Regions from separate parts of the Homo sapiens genome. Here region 2 is linked to region 1. Evidence: promoter capture Hi-C in 16 types of primary human blood cells and fetal thymus (Javierre and others, 2016). All regions are on one chromosome and are shown on one strand. Each heading gives the region's core, a stretch centred on a gene start or on the middle of the fragment in contact. The rest is flanking DNA. Distances are from core to core; before and after follow the strand shown. Region 1 holds the start of GGA3 (golgi associated, gamma adaptin ear containing, ARF binding protein 3). Region 2 holds the start of UNK (unk zinc finger).

The links. Contacts are between HindIII fragments. The CHiCAGO score rates a contact against its expected background, and 5 or more counts as called.
Region 2: the fragment with the promoter of UNK here is called in contact with the fragment with the promoter of GGA3 in region 1 in 7 of 17 cell types (fetal thymus, total B cells, naive CD4 T cells and 4 more); the score reaches 10.1 in fetal thymus.

Annotation. Positions count from the first base shown.
Region 1 is chr17:75,258,399-75,265,228 of GRCh38, reverse strand. GGA3 (golgi associated, gamma adaptin ear containing, ARF binding protein 3) reads left to right here and starts at 3,623. Exons shown (of 17, transcript NM_138619.4): 1 at 3,623-3,681. The coding sequence starts at 3,642. It overlaps MRPS7 (mitochondrial ribosomal protein S7), which reads right to left and starts at 3,350. Exons shown (of 5, transcript NM_015971.4): 1 at 3,246-3,350; 2 at 2,541-2,732; 3 at 2,362-2,425; 4 at 1,722-1,889. The coding sequence starts at 3,328. RefSeq lists enhancers at 2,564-3,441, 3,238-3,647, 4,118-4,217. The HindIII fragment of the contact is 945 bases long and covers 3,130-4,074 here.
Region 2 is chr17:75,781,013-75,787,842 of GRCh38, reverse strand. UNK (unk zinc finger) reads right to left here and starts at 3,037. Exons shown (of 16, transcript NM_001080419.3): 1 at 2,859-3,037. The coding sequence starts at 2,962. MIR4738 (microRNA 4738) reads left to right here and starts at 3,236; the gene lies at 3,236-3,322. RefSeq lists enhancers at 1,787-2,364, 2,376-2,775, 2,365-2,943, 4,506-4,685 and a silencer at 2,836-2,975. The HindIII fragment of the contact is 1,873 bases long and covers 1,711-3,583 here.

The sequences.
Region 1 (6,830 bases), core at 2,374-4,873:
TCGTCTCTACTAAAATGCAAAAATTAGCTGGGCGTGGTGGCAGGCGCCTGTAATCCCAGCTACTTGGGAGGCTGAGGTAGAAATGCTTGAACCCAGGAGACGGAGGTTGCAGTGAGCCAAGAATGCACCACTGCACTCCAGCCTGGGCAACAGAGCGAGACTTCGTCTCAAAAAAAAAGAAAAAGAAAAAGAAGAAAAGCACTGGCCATTTTCCCTCCTAAATGGTAGTCCTACCAAGTTGTTATAAGAACCAAATAGGAAAAGCCCCATTAGCTGGGGTGACTAATCCACCTCAGACCATAGGTACCTAAAAACAAGACCCCTTCAGTCTTCAGACACAGCAAAACCCTGTCTCTACTAAAAATACAAAAAAATTAGCTGGGCATGGTGGCGGCCACCTGTAATCCCAGCTACTTGGGGTGGGCAGGGACTGAGACAGGAGAATCTCTTGAACCCGGGAGGCGGAGGCTGCAGTGAGCCGAGAGCTGAGATTACAGCACTGCACTCCAGTCTGGGCAACAAAAGCGAAACTCCATCTCAAAAAAAAAAAAAAAAGTTAAAAACAAAAAGACCCTATACAAACAGTTAAAGAAAACCAAAAACAAGACCCCGTGTCCAAAAATCATTTGTCAGGCCCTCACTATGCGTCAGTACCATGCCAGACACGAGAGTGCAGACAATAATGAAGTCCCTACCCCATGGAGTTGATATTGAAAAAGGAGAACACAAGAAAACTCAGGACAATAAAATATAATTAAATGCTATGAAAGAGATACCTAGTACTGTTCAGCAAACACTGATGAAGCATCAGTTATCGGTCAAGCACTATGCCAAACACTGGCATACAAAGACAGGATATGAATAGTCCCTCGCCATGAGAATTTTACAGGTTAGGACACACAGGATGCTTGACAGAAGAAGGCGAAGGGAGGTGGGCTCCCAGATGTCACTTAGATACTTCTTCACTCTCTTCCACCTTCTGCCTATAATTTTTACGCTACAGGACTCAGATGAGTGGACCGTAACAGTCTCAATTCTTTTTTTTTTTTTTTTTTTGAGATGGCGTCTTGCTCTGTTGCCAGGCTGGAGTGCGGTGGTGTGCTCTCGGCTCACTGCAACCTCTGCATCCTGGGTTCAAGCGATTCTCCTGCTTCAGCCTCCCAAGTAGCTGGGACTACTGGTATGTGCCACCACACCTGGCTAATTTTGTATTGTTAGTAGAAACAGGGTTTCTCCTTGTTGATCTCGAACTCCCCACCTCAGGTAATCCATCCACCTCGGCCTCCCAAAGTGCTGGGATTACAGGTGTGAGCCACCGTGCCCAGCCGTTTTTTTTTTTTTTTTTTCTGAGACAAGGTTTCTCTCTCTTGCCCAGGCTGGAATGCAGGGGCGTAATCATAACTCACTGCAGCCTTGACCTCCTGGACTCAAGTGATCCTCCTACCTCAGCCTCCTGAGTAGTTGGGAGCACAGATGCACACCACCACACCTGGCTAATTTTTTTGTTTTTTTTGTAGAGACGGGATCTCCCTATGTTGCCCTGCTGTCTCTTAACTCCTGAGCTCAAGCTATCCTGCATTAGGCTCCCAAAGTGCTGAGATTACAGGTGCAATCCCACTGCACCAGCTAGAAAGCTATCAATCTTGACCCAACTCCCAAGCACCACCTATCTTGTTTCACATGTGGAGGGCCCTGCTTTCTTGCCCTGGCCATTCATTCACCTGGTAGAAACGGCCTCCCTTGAGGATGGGTACCAGCCCAATCATAGGCTCACAGTTTTTCAGTGCTTGATGGAAGATGGTGTAGGGGTTGCGTTCGATGGTTGCCTGTTCCTCTGCAGAAGCGGCATGGTACTTCTCAAACTGCTTCCTTTTCACAGCTTCCAGAGTCTGCAAAAGAATATGGTGGAAGAGGCTGCCCCAGGCTCCCTAAAGGGTTTACCCAGCCAAGCTAGTACCTTGCCCTTTACTCCCATCCTCTGGTTCTGCGCTGGCAATGCAGCTCCTCTCACAGCACATCCAAAACAAAGTTTTTAAGTGCCTCCCCCTTTGCTAGACTAGGACAGAAAGAGTGGATTGAGATTTGTGGCATGGAGGGGGTGGGGGGTGAGGTGGGGAATGGCAGTTGTTTTATTTTTTATTTGTTCCTTTTTTTTTAATTGTGTGTTTACTTCCGAAACACCAAGGAATGGCAGTTGCTGACTCTTACAGGGCTTCATTAAAGCCCGTACACATGCAGGGAAGTTAATCTGAATAATAGATACATGAATCCATTTGCTCTTAAGCTACACTGAAAGTACCAAGTACAAGGCTACGGGGTAGGGGGGCAAGAAAGATGACTGAGGAGGGAAGTGCTGTTTACCTGAATCATGAGGGATCTGGCCAGTACTTTGTTTCCTCCTATCATCATCATGTTGGTGAATTTACTTCAAAGAGAAAAGCAACACGTTTAGCTCTCCAAGGCTGTATCACAGAATCCTCACCAGAAACCCTCCCTGGGATAGTCCCAGTCCATGTAACAAGTGTTTGTTTCCATCTAACCTGATGACTGGGTCTTCAAACACAGAACTTGTTTTCCCTGCTGGAGCAGCTTTGATGAGCTGAGTCTTCTTGAGCTCCCGAACATATTTCTCCTCCTCAGTTAGCTCCTCCACTGGCTTGCGATAATATTCCTTGTCAATCAAGGGATCCTTGAATTCAGGACTATAGCGGCTCCATCTCACCTGAGTTAGCCTGGGAGGGGGGGAAAGGAGGAGGCAGGCAAAAGCTGACTCCACAAGCGAGTAGGTTTGACTTAACAATAGGCATGACTGCCAACGCGCCGACGAGGGGGAGCGGCGCGGAGACCGCGAGCTAAACCTGAGCCACAACAATTCAGGCCCTTGTCCCAAGTAGGAGGACATTCCCCAAGCAGGCGGGTAAAGTCTCCTCCTGGTCAAGTGCTAACGGTAAGGATGGGCTTGGCGCCTACACACCCATCCCAATTCACAGGCGATCCCAGATCTGAGCTCTTTAGCTGAACCGCACTTTCAGCTCCGCGTTAGAACCCTAGATCAGCCAGACTCCTTAGGCGAGAGGTAGTCACTAAACCTTCGGATTGGCGCAGGGTCACGCAGCTAACTTAGAAGCTTGAATCCAGATACTCCGGCCCCCAGGGCAATGCTCTCTCTAGGGGCCCACGCGGCCTGCCTGTGGCCCCCTTCCTTCCTCGCAGCGCCCCCCCGCCGCTGCTCGCCACCCTCTCACCCTGGAAGCTGCAAGACAGCCCGCCGCACGCCCAACGCCAGGCCCGACCATCCTCGGGCAACCTTCACTGCGGGGGCAGCCATCTTGGCTGGCCACGAGGACCCCACAAGGACTGCCCTCGGCGCGCCTGAGCGAGTGACGGGAAACGGGTGAAAAAGACTCCTCAGGGTCCTAAATCTGCGTTTCTCTCCACTGATCTGGACGTTAGAGTTTTTCACTCCGGGGTCCAAAGGGGAGCGCCAAAAGGAAACCCTTGCCCTCCCTGTATCCGTCGCAGTCTGGCGCGGCCCTCGGTGACGGCACTCACTCCTCTCAGGACCCCATGCAGGCCCCGCCCCGTCTCAGCTCGTGCAGACTCTCGCGAGTTTTGAAGCCGCGGGGCCGGGCGGCTGCAATATGGCGGAGGCGGAAGGGGAAAGCCTGGAGTCCTGGCTCAGTGAGTAGCCGCGGCCGTTTCTGCCTGCCCTCGAGCCGCTGGGCTGCCCCTGTCTTCACCCCCACGTCCCCTCCCCGGGCTCCACGGCGTCGCCTCTTGGCAGCCCACGCCCGGTCTCGCCCTCGCCGCGAGCAGCCTGCGATCACGCCCCTTCCCTATCAGGGCGCCGGGCCCCAGTCCGGCCCCCGCTTCCCTCGCTGCGGCGCGTCCTCTTGCTCTGGCGCGCGGCGGCGTGAACTCGGGCTCCTGTCGGGCACCGCAGGCTCGGGGAAAGGCGACAGCCAAGATCTTCGGGCTGACATGCTTCGGCGCTTTGGGGAGATTGTGGTGGGGTCGCCGCCCGGCGGTGACACCAGGAACCCAGCGCCCCAATCCCTGACTAAGGGAGAAGCTTCGGATTGGGGCTGAGTCTCCGGTAGTGGTGGGTGCTGCCGACTGCGTTCAGTCGCCTGGCAGCTTCAGAATTGTGACCATGTGTTGGAGAAGTGACGGCTTCGCTCAGGCAGAATGCTTGAAGTGAGAATAATATTCCAAAGAGAGCGATGATAGAGAACAGAGAGCTCTACCTTTTTCCTGCAGTGACCACAGAAGCATGGTGAAATCGGTGTCGGGAATTCCCCCCCCACACACATACATATACCCCCTTGAATATCCTAACGAGTCAGTGTTGATAGCCTATTCTGAGTAAGGCTGAGGAGCACAGTCTGAAGCTGTAGTTATAGAAGCGTATTGCTGTCATTGCACTGTGAATTACAGTGCTACGAAGGAAATGTGTGTTAACCTGGTTAGCAGGTAGTACTCTGCCTGAGGGTTAATAAGTGAACTTTCCTGTAGGCTAGACCTGGAAGCCTCCTTTAAGTGGAGAGAGAAATTGGACTGGTAATGGGATAGGTGAGATACCTAGTATTGCCTTGTTCTGAGGTCTCTTATTTAGTACTGCTTCCGGGATCTTGGAGGTGATAGCTATTTCCTCAAATTGTCTGATTTTTCCTAGTAAGAAACCCCCTTCAGGAGGTTGAGCTTCAGTTTAAAGGGGAGCATATCCCAAAAGAGAGAAAAAGTAAGATCACGTTTGCAAAATCTGCAGTTGCAGGCAGGTCATAAGGCTTCTTTATATATGGAAGTGTTCTCCAAGGAGCTCAAAGTACTTTACAGATATTCATTAAATTAGTTTACCAAGTATTCTAGCAAAGCAGGCACTACTGCCATAATTTCACAAAAAGAGGACATCCTGACTCCAGTCAAACCACTTGCCCAGAAATGCCCAACTTGCTATAACCAGAGTGGAATTAGTTTGCTTTGAAGGTATTAATATGGGTATTGAATAATTTAAATGACCTAAGCTGAGTTTAATAGGCTACATTTAGAGTTACATTTTGTTTTTGTTACTTGTTTTTGAGACAGAGTCTCGCGCGCTGTTGTCTAGGCTGGAGTGCAGGGGTGCGATCATAGCTCACTGCAGCCTTGAACCCCTGTGCTCAAATAAGTCTTCTACCTCAGCCTCCTGAGTAGCTGGGACTATAGGCACACGCCACCATGCTTGGCTAATTCTTTTGATTTTTAGTAGAGATGAGGTCTTGCTGTGTTGCCCAGGATGGTCTCAAACTCGAGTTCAAGTGATCCTCCCACCTTTCCCTTACAAAGCGCTGGGATTACACACGTGAGCTACCGCACCCAGCCTAGAGTCACATTATGAAATGAGAGGGACACACTTGGTGGGGGGGAGTCACATGGTATCTGTAGAGACATAAGCTTCACAGTTGTTACGACTTAATGTGAACTGTACCAGTTGAACAAACCAGCAGTTGGGGTTCAGCATCGTCTCAGTCAGCGTCCTTGTCACCCCACGTTTGCCTGAATTGTTGCAGAAGCCTCTGCTTGGCCCAGAGACCCAGGTCTCTCCCGTCCTCACCTCTCCTCAGTCCATTCTGCTCCCAGAAGCGCACTTGTGTTGAATCAAATCATTCCACTGTTGCCTGTAATCTGGCCTTGGTTGTTCCAGGCCTTTTTCTCTGTGGCTTCTACGTTTTCCTGCTCTACTCAGTCTGATGTTCTTGGTTTACCAATACACGTTGCTCTCCTTACCTGGAAGCCCTGCTCCCGTTTCCTCAACTAAATGCTTGAAAACCCATCTCAGATTCTCTTTTCTCACAAACCATCTCTTGATGACTTCAGTCTTCTTTCAAGTCCCACCATGATCAATCAATCAATGTTTAATGAGTACCTGCTACGTGGGGTGTTATAGGAGTTAGGAAGTTTAAGAAGATTTTGCCTTTAGTTGGATGGAGGTGATGCTGGAGTGGATGAAGAACTCTCCTGTAATCCCAGCACGTTGGGAGGCCGAGGCGGGTGGATCACGAGGTCAGGAGATCGAGACCATCCTGGCTAACACAGTGAAACCCCGTCTCTACTAAAAAATACAAAAAAATAGCCAGGCGTAGTGGCGGGCGCCTGTAGTCCCAGCTACACGGGAGGCTGAGGCAGGAGAATGGTGTGAACCCGAGAGGTGGAGCTTGCAGTGAGCTGGGATTGTGCCACTGCACTCCAGCCTCGGTGACAGAGCGAGACTCCGTCTCCAAAAAAAAAAAAAAAAAAGATACAAGGCAGTGCTAAAACGCCGGCATTCTCTTTAGGGAACTGGGGATGGGGGAAGAGATGATTCATTGAGGATACTCCATTTGAGCTAGCCATTAAATAATGGGAAAAGTTGGAAAAAAAAAAACACTAGATGGTGATGTGGAGAGAGCAAACCTGTTTGGGGCACACAGTAACAGAGGTGTTTGGGAATGAGGGAAGATAAGGCTGGGAAGTTAAGACCAGATTCTACCAAGTCTCCAATTTCCAGCCCAAGAAGTTTATTTTATTTATTTATTTATTTGAGACAGAGTCTTGCACTGTCACCCAGGCTGGAATGCAGTGGCACAATCTCGGCTCACTGCAACTTCCGTTGCTTAGGTGCAAGCAATTCTCCATCCTCAGCCTCCCAAGTAGCTGGGACTACTGGTATGTGCCACTACACCTGGCTCATTTTTGTATTTTTAGTAGAGATGGGGTTTCACCATGTTGGCCAGGCTGTTGTCAAACTCTTGACCTCAAGTGAGCCACCTGCCTCAGCTCCCTCCAAAGTGTTGGGATTACAGGCTTGAGCT
Region 2 (6,830 bases), core at 1,788-4,287, 520 kb before region 1:
TCTCTTTTTTTTTTTTTTTGGACCGAGTCTCACTCTGTCACCCAGGTTGGAGTGCAGTGGCACAATCTCTGCTCACTGCAACCTCTGCCTCCTGGGTTCAAGCGATTCTCCTGCCTCAGCCTCCTGAGTAGCTGGGACTGCAGGTGTGTGCCACCAGGCCTGACTAATTTTTTGTATTTTTAGTAGAGACGGGGTTTCCATGTTGGCCAGGTTGGTCTCGAACTCCTGACCTCAAGTGATCCACCCACCTCAGGCTCCCAAAGTGCTGGGATTACAGGTGTGAGCAACCGCACCCTGCCCATGTCTCTTTTAAGAAGAGGAAAAAAAAAAAAAAAGCTGGGTGTGGTGGCCTCCCAGCACTTTGGGAGGCCAAGGCCCAACAGTAGATTGCTTGCGCCTGCTCGATCACAGGAGTTCGAGACTAGGCTGGGCAACATGGCAAAATCACGTCTCTACAAAAAATACCAAAAAAATGTATCCAGGTGTGCCTGTAGTCCCAGCTACTCAGGAGACTGAGGTGGGAGGATCACTTGAGCCAGGGAGGTCGAGGCTACAGTGAGCTGAGATGGTGACACTGCACTATAGCCTGGATGACAGAGACCCTATCTTAAAAAAAAGAAAAAGAAAAATCAGAGCCAGCAAGTGTGCTGGTTCCATCATATGTGTCCTCATGCTCCCTGCACCTCAGCCCTAGGAGGACTAGGGGATGAAGTTTTCCAGGTCATCACAGCTTCTGAATGCTAGTAAGTCTAGCAAGAAAGACCACTGATTTCTATCTCTGATTTTTGGAAATACAAATATAAAAACACACATACATATGAACAGACAAAGAGATAAGAACACCTACAACCTCCCATCAAGCTTGGCTATTTCACCTACTCCTGTTGATTTCCTAAGACACCTCAAGAGCCAGGTCCCATTACTCTATACTTACCCACAAGGAATGGAAAGGCAGGCTTTTTTTTTGTTTTTGTTTCTGTTTTTTGAGACGGAGTTTTGCTCTTGTCGCTCAGGCTGGAGTGCAGTGGCACGATCTCGGCTCACTGCCACCTCCGCCTCCCGGGTTCAAGCGATTCTCCTGCCTCAGCCTCCTGAGTAGCTGGGATTACAGGCGCCCGCCAGCACACCCAGCTAATTTTTTGTATTTTTAGTAGAGACGGGGTTTTGCCATATTGGGCAGGCTGGTCTCTTCACTCCTGACCTCATGCGATCCGCCTCGGCCTCCCAAAATGCTGTGATTACAGGCGTGAGAGCTACCACGCCCGGCAGGAAAGACAGGTTTTAAACAAATGAGCATCAAGAGGACAAAGACTCAGATACTGACATTTAATCAGCTGTTCACTTGTTTCACCTGTCAATTCCAAAATAAGAAAGCCTTTCTATTACAGATTCCATAGTATGCTCAATGACAACACAACACAGAAACACAAGTTGCTGAAGCCAAGACTCTCGTGACTCAAAATGTGTTTATTTTGCTAAAAACAGTGATCTGAGCAACCAGAGATTATAAAGAAGTTCCAATTACGTGAAGTTTCCAGATTCGAAAATCAAGACTACACCATTCAACTCATCAGTAGTCTTTGAGCTAAGAACATCTCACCAAAATCAATGGAAAGACTGCGAAAGATCTCCAGTAAGAAAGGACCAGGAAAGCAATGTCCATATCAGAAAAGGAATGGTTAACGTGAGTCAGACTGTAGTCAAGAAGCTTAAATGATTTCAGCCAACAACAAAGAATCCCACAAAGAAACCATACACTTCCTATAACCAATGTTCCCCAACCCCAGAACAGTTTCCCAAGGTCTTCTATAACAAGAGTTCCTCCTGACTGGTTTGAGTTCTTTCTACTCCAACAGATGATTCTGTTCTTCGTTCACTGAACAACTTAAGAGCTGTTCAACCCCCCAGGTTCCAAAACCTCTCGCAGCTGGGGATCCTTTTAAACATGCACATCACTCAGGAGCCCATGGGGATGAGAGGCATTCACAGAGCATCAGGGAAAATGGAAAGCAACATTTTGCTTAACAGGAGAAACCGCCCCTTATTCATCTTTCTCCCACATCACCTAACTCTAGGGAATGCTTAACGTGGCTTGAAGGAAATGAAGACAGCGACCTAAAAGCACACAGATGCAAGACTTCCAGGAAGAGGTTTTCCCATCCTGCTGGACTCCTGTAGTGTCAGTATTTGGGGCTCCCTCTAATGCTACATTTCTGCTGAGCCTGCAGACATACTTGGAACCCATCACCTTCGGGCTCCCAGACTCAGGCTCCGCACAGCCCGCGAGGGAAACGGTCATGGGCACGCACGGACACGTTTCCATCTTTGCATGTTTATCTACGTCGACTGTGAATTCAAGCAAGTGTGGCCCTCGTGGACAACCTACGAGCCTTAGGGACACAAAAGGCTTCCTGCGCAAACTGCACGGAATCTCCTGACAGGACTTCACGTTAATCATCATTCATAGGTGGGTTCTGGGGCTGGACCCCACGGAACTCCTCTTGGTTGTGTCTTGGACTTCTCACTGCCCCAAAGGAGCCTACTACTGTGGTTTTATGGTCTGAGGAACAGTTAGGCCTCGAAGGCCTGGCCTAGGGAGAGTGCACTCTGCATCCCGAGCTCCCGCCTTCCCCACTCGGCGGCCGGGACCGAGTTTCCCGCCCCACAGCCCGACCAGAGGTTGGTGGCAGTTGGAGGCAGTTGGGACCGGCCCCAGCAGGTTGGAACCGGTCTGGGCCGGGCCGGAGGAGGAAGGGGGGGAGGAAGAGGCCGCCTCGCGCTCTCCCTGCGCGCGTGACTCACGCTGGCCGCTGACGTCAGGCGTGCGCGCGCGGCGGGGGGGGGGGGGCTCTACGTACGTGTAGTGCTGCGGTTTCTCGGGCTGTGCCTGCAGCACCTGAGCGGTAGCGGCCGGGGGCGCCGAGGAAGCTGCGGAGCCGCCGGGCCCGGGGCCCTTCGACATGGTCTTGTCTTCCTGCCTCTTCGCCGCTCCCCTTTTATTATTCAGTCTGCGCGGTCCGCGCCGAGGACCCAGTGCGCCTGCGCCGCGCCACGAGAACGTGAAGACCCCCCACACGGCAGCAGGGGTTGCTGGGAGTTGTGGTTCTATGTCCGGCTGGAATTTTACCGTCGGCAGAGGGTTGCTGGCAAAGCACAGGACCACAATACCCAGGGATCCTTGCTGCTAGTGTCCCGGATGCTGAGGGCCTGCGACGGCTTCTGGGAATTGCAGTCCGGTCGCATTTCTCCTTCTTACCAGCGCGTTTTCAGTTTCATAGGGAAGCCTTTCCATGAAACTGGAGCGCCTGGAGGAGAAGGGGCCCAGAGCTAGGGAGGCCCTAGCGATTTCTGCGAAAGAGTTCCAAGTATAATTTCACTGCCAACAGTGTCATAACTACTTTGCCTTTATACTTAGTACAGCTAGGTTCGGTTCTAATGCCAGCTCAGAGCAGTGCTCCAAGCAGGGCTTAAGAATCTGTGTTGTCGGTTCTTAGTTCTGGGCCCTGTGCTGCAGGCACCTGCAATCCGCCAGCAACCCCTTCATCCCTGCGGCGGGTCTAACCTAAGAGGCATTGAGAAAGCTTTGCTAAGGAGGAGGTACACCGCACGCTACAGTTCCCGCGCCTTTGCCGAGGCGCTTCATTTACCTTTGCCAAACTCGACACCTGGAACTCCACGACTTGTGTGCTTTCTCAGCCTGACACCTGGCCTGACCAACTTGTTTCCAGTACATTAAGGGCCAAGGACGAATTTAATCTCCGCCTAGAATAGTCTCTGAGGTACACTGACAAGTTGCCAGTGTTGAGAAGCATCACAGGGTCCAGAGGAAAGGCCTGGGTTTGAGTAGGGCGTGCCCGTATTTATCCACTCTAGTTTTCTTGTCTGGACGTCAGCCTTTTTACTTGGGACATTATCTTTCCCCTCTCTGCTTCCCACCAGTCAAGCAAAGTTCTTCACTTTATAAAATAAGCCAGATGCCCCAGACCTAGGCATTTGTTTCTGTGAGTTTTAGAATGTTCTCCGTAGATATTTTAACCGTTGTCATTTAATTTGGTTTTTCATATTGAATCTATTTCAAATCCACTGGTTTTGATTTATATTTTCTTAGATGGGATTATATTAACAAATGATTATCTCATTAAAGAAACACATTCCAAATAACCTTAGGGATGAAGGGTGGTGGGGCTAATGGAAAATCGTTAATGTTTGAGTGACACATACTTATTTTATTTAGCTCCAAGTTCCCTCACATCAGAAGCCACATCACAGAGTTGAGAAACTGGTTTTTCCTAAACAGGCTAAATCGTTTAGCCACTAGGGGCGTTTGAAAATGAAAAATTACAAAAGGACAAATAAAAGTTGTAGTATATTGCTTTAATCCTATGATTAAACGCAAGTTACTTGGTTTATGTTAGCCTCACAATACTCAAGTGTGATCTGACTGAAGAAATAGAGTTCACAGCACTGGATTTTAAATAATAGATGTATATCATGAGCTTCAGAATAAGTGTGTACTGGTGGAGTTGGGAGATGATATCATCCAAACTGCTTAATTTACAAAAGAGGAAACCGAAACCCAGAGAAGCTAAGTAACTTGCACAAAGTTACTCAGCAAGTTGGTAACAAGAGGAACTAGGACAGTAGCCTACAAGACTACATCACATTCACTGTTGGGTTTTGTTTGTTTTGTTTTCTTCTGCTTTTTTTCATTGTATAAACATTTTTTATTCTTCCTCATTTCCTGTGTTGCTTTTCCTCCGTTGTACCAATCTGGAAAAAGTGAAACATACCTGCATGACTACGAAGTAAGAGAGACAGCCTTTTTTTTTTTTTTTTTTTTTTTTTTTTGAGGCAGAGTCTTGCTCTGTTGCCCAGGCTGGAGTGCAGTGGTGTGATTTCGGCTCACTGCAACCTCTGCCTCCCAGGTTCAAGCAATTCTCCTGCCTCAGCCTCCTGAGTAGCTGGGATTACAGGTGTGTGCCACCACGCCCACCTGATTTTTGTAGTTTTAGTAGAGACGTGGTTTCACCATGTTGGTCAGGCTGGTCTCGAACTCCTGACCTCACGATCCACCCTCCTCAGCCTCCCAAGAGCTGGGATTACAGGCGTGAGCCACTGCGCCCGGACTCCTGTTTCCACGAATCATACTTAAATGGATAAATGTATATCCATACCTTTTTTCTCCGGGTGGCTTTAGTTTCTAATAATCAGCAAAGCTGGAAAGAAAATGACTGTCCATCCACACAAAGGCATGGAAATGACAGGATTCTGTATAACCTAGAAAAATCGTGAAACACAGCAGGGAGTGGTGGCTGAAGCCTGTAATCCCAGCACTTTGGGAGGCCGAGGTGGGCGGATCACAAGGTCAGGAGATCGAGACCATCTTGGCTAACATGGTGAAACCCTTGTCTCTACTAAAAATACAAAAAAATTAGCCAGGCGTGGTGGCGGGCGCCTGTAGTCCCAGCTACTCAGGAGGCTGAGGCAGGAGAATGGTGTGAACCTGGGAGGCGGAGCTTGCAGTGAGCCGAGATGGCGCCACTGCACTCCAGTCTAGGCGACAGAGCAAGACTCCATCTCAAAAAAAAAAAAAAAAAAAAAAATCGTGGAACACAAAGTGGGGGACCAATTTAGAAAGCCTATTCCTCTTCTAGGCCAAAGTCAAAAAAAAAAAAAAAAAAAAGATGACAAGTTATTTTTCTGTTTGCATCCCAGAGAATTTGACAGCCTCATATGTGTGTCTAAACAGTCCCCTGTTTCTTAACTTGACACAGGTTTGAGAATAAAGCATGAGAATCCACCTAGGTTTCTCTTCTCAGCATGGCATTAATAAAATCATGTAATTTTTCCCTACCTCAAATTTTGAGTCAAAGGCAGAAATCAAAGTTGGTTATCACAGTAAATTTAGGTATATGATGATTAAATACATAATGTGCACGTTAAGATTAAGAAGGCTGGCTGAGCGCGGTGGCTCACGCCTGTAATCCCAGCACTTTGGGAGGCGAGAGGCAGGCGGACCACGAGGTCCAGAGATCGAGACCATCTTGGCCAACATGGGAAACCCTGTCTCTACTAAAATACAAAAAATTAGCCGGGCATGGTGGCGCATGCCTACAATCCCAGCTACTTGGGAGGCTGAGGCAGGGGAATCGCTTGAACCCAGGAAGTGGAGGTTGCATGGAGCTGAGATCGCGCCACTGCACTCCAGCCTGGCAGCAGAGCAAGAGTCCGTCTCAAAAAAAAAAAAAAAAAAATTAAGAAGGCTGAAATAATAACAGGAATTTGATACCAGAGATTGAGATGAAGCTGAGCTAGTTTTTCAAAGTGTGCATTTTTTTCTCATTGTTTGATACTTGACCACTGGTGTGACAAGTCAATATTGAGGTATTTGTACTTACGTACTGTAATTCTCTGAAGGTCAGGCATGGTGGCTCATGCCTGTAATCCTAGCACTTTGGGAGGCTGGGGCAGAAGGATTGCTTGAGTCCAGGAGGTCAAAACTGCAGTGAGCCGTGGTCACTGCACCACTGCACTCTAGCATGGGTGACTGGGCAAGACCCCACTTCAAAAAAAAAAAAAATTACCGGCCAGGGGCGGTGGCCCATGCCTGTAATCCCAGCACTTTGGGAGGCCAAGGCGGGTGGATCACAAGGTCAGGAGATCAAGACCATCTTGGCTAACACGGTGAAACCCCGTCTCTACTAAAAATACAAAAAAATTAGCCGGGCGTGGTGGCAGGCGCCTGTAGTCCCAGCTACTCGGAGGCTGAGTCAGGAGAATGGTGTGAACCCAGGAGGCGGAGCTTGCAGTGAGCTGAGATCGTGCCACTG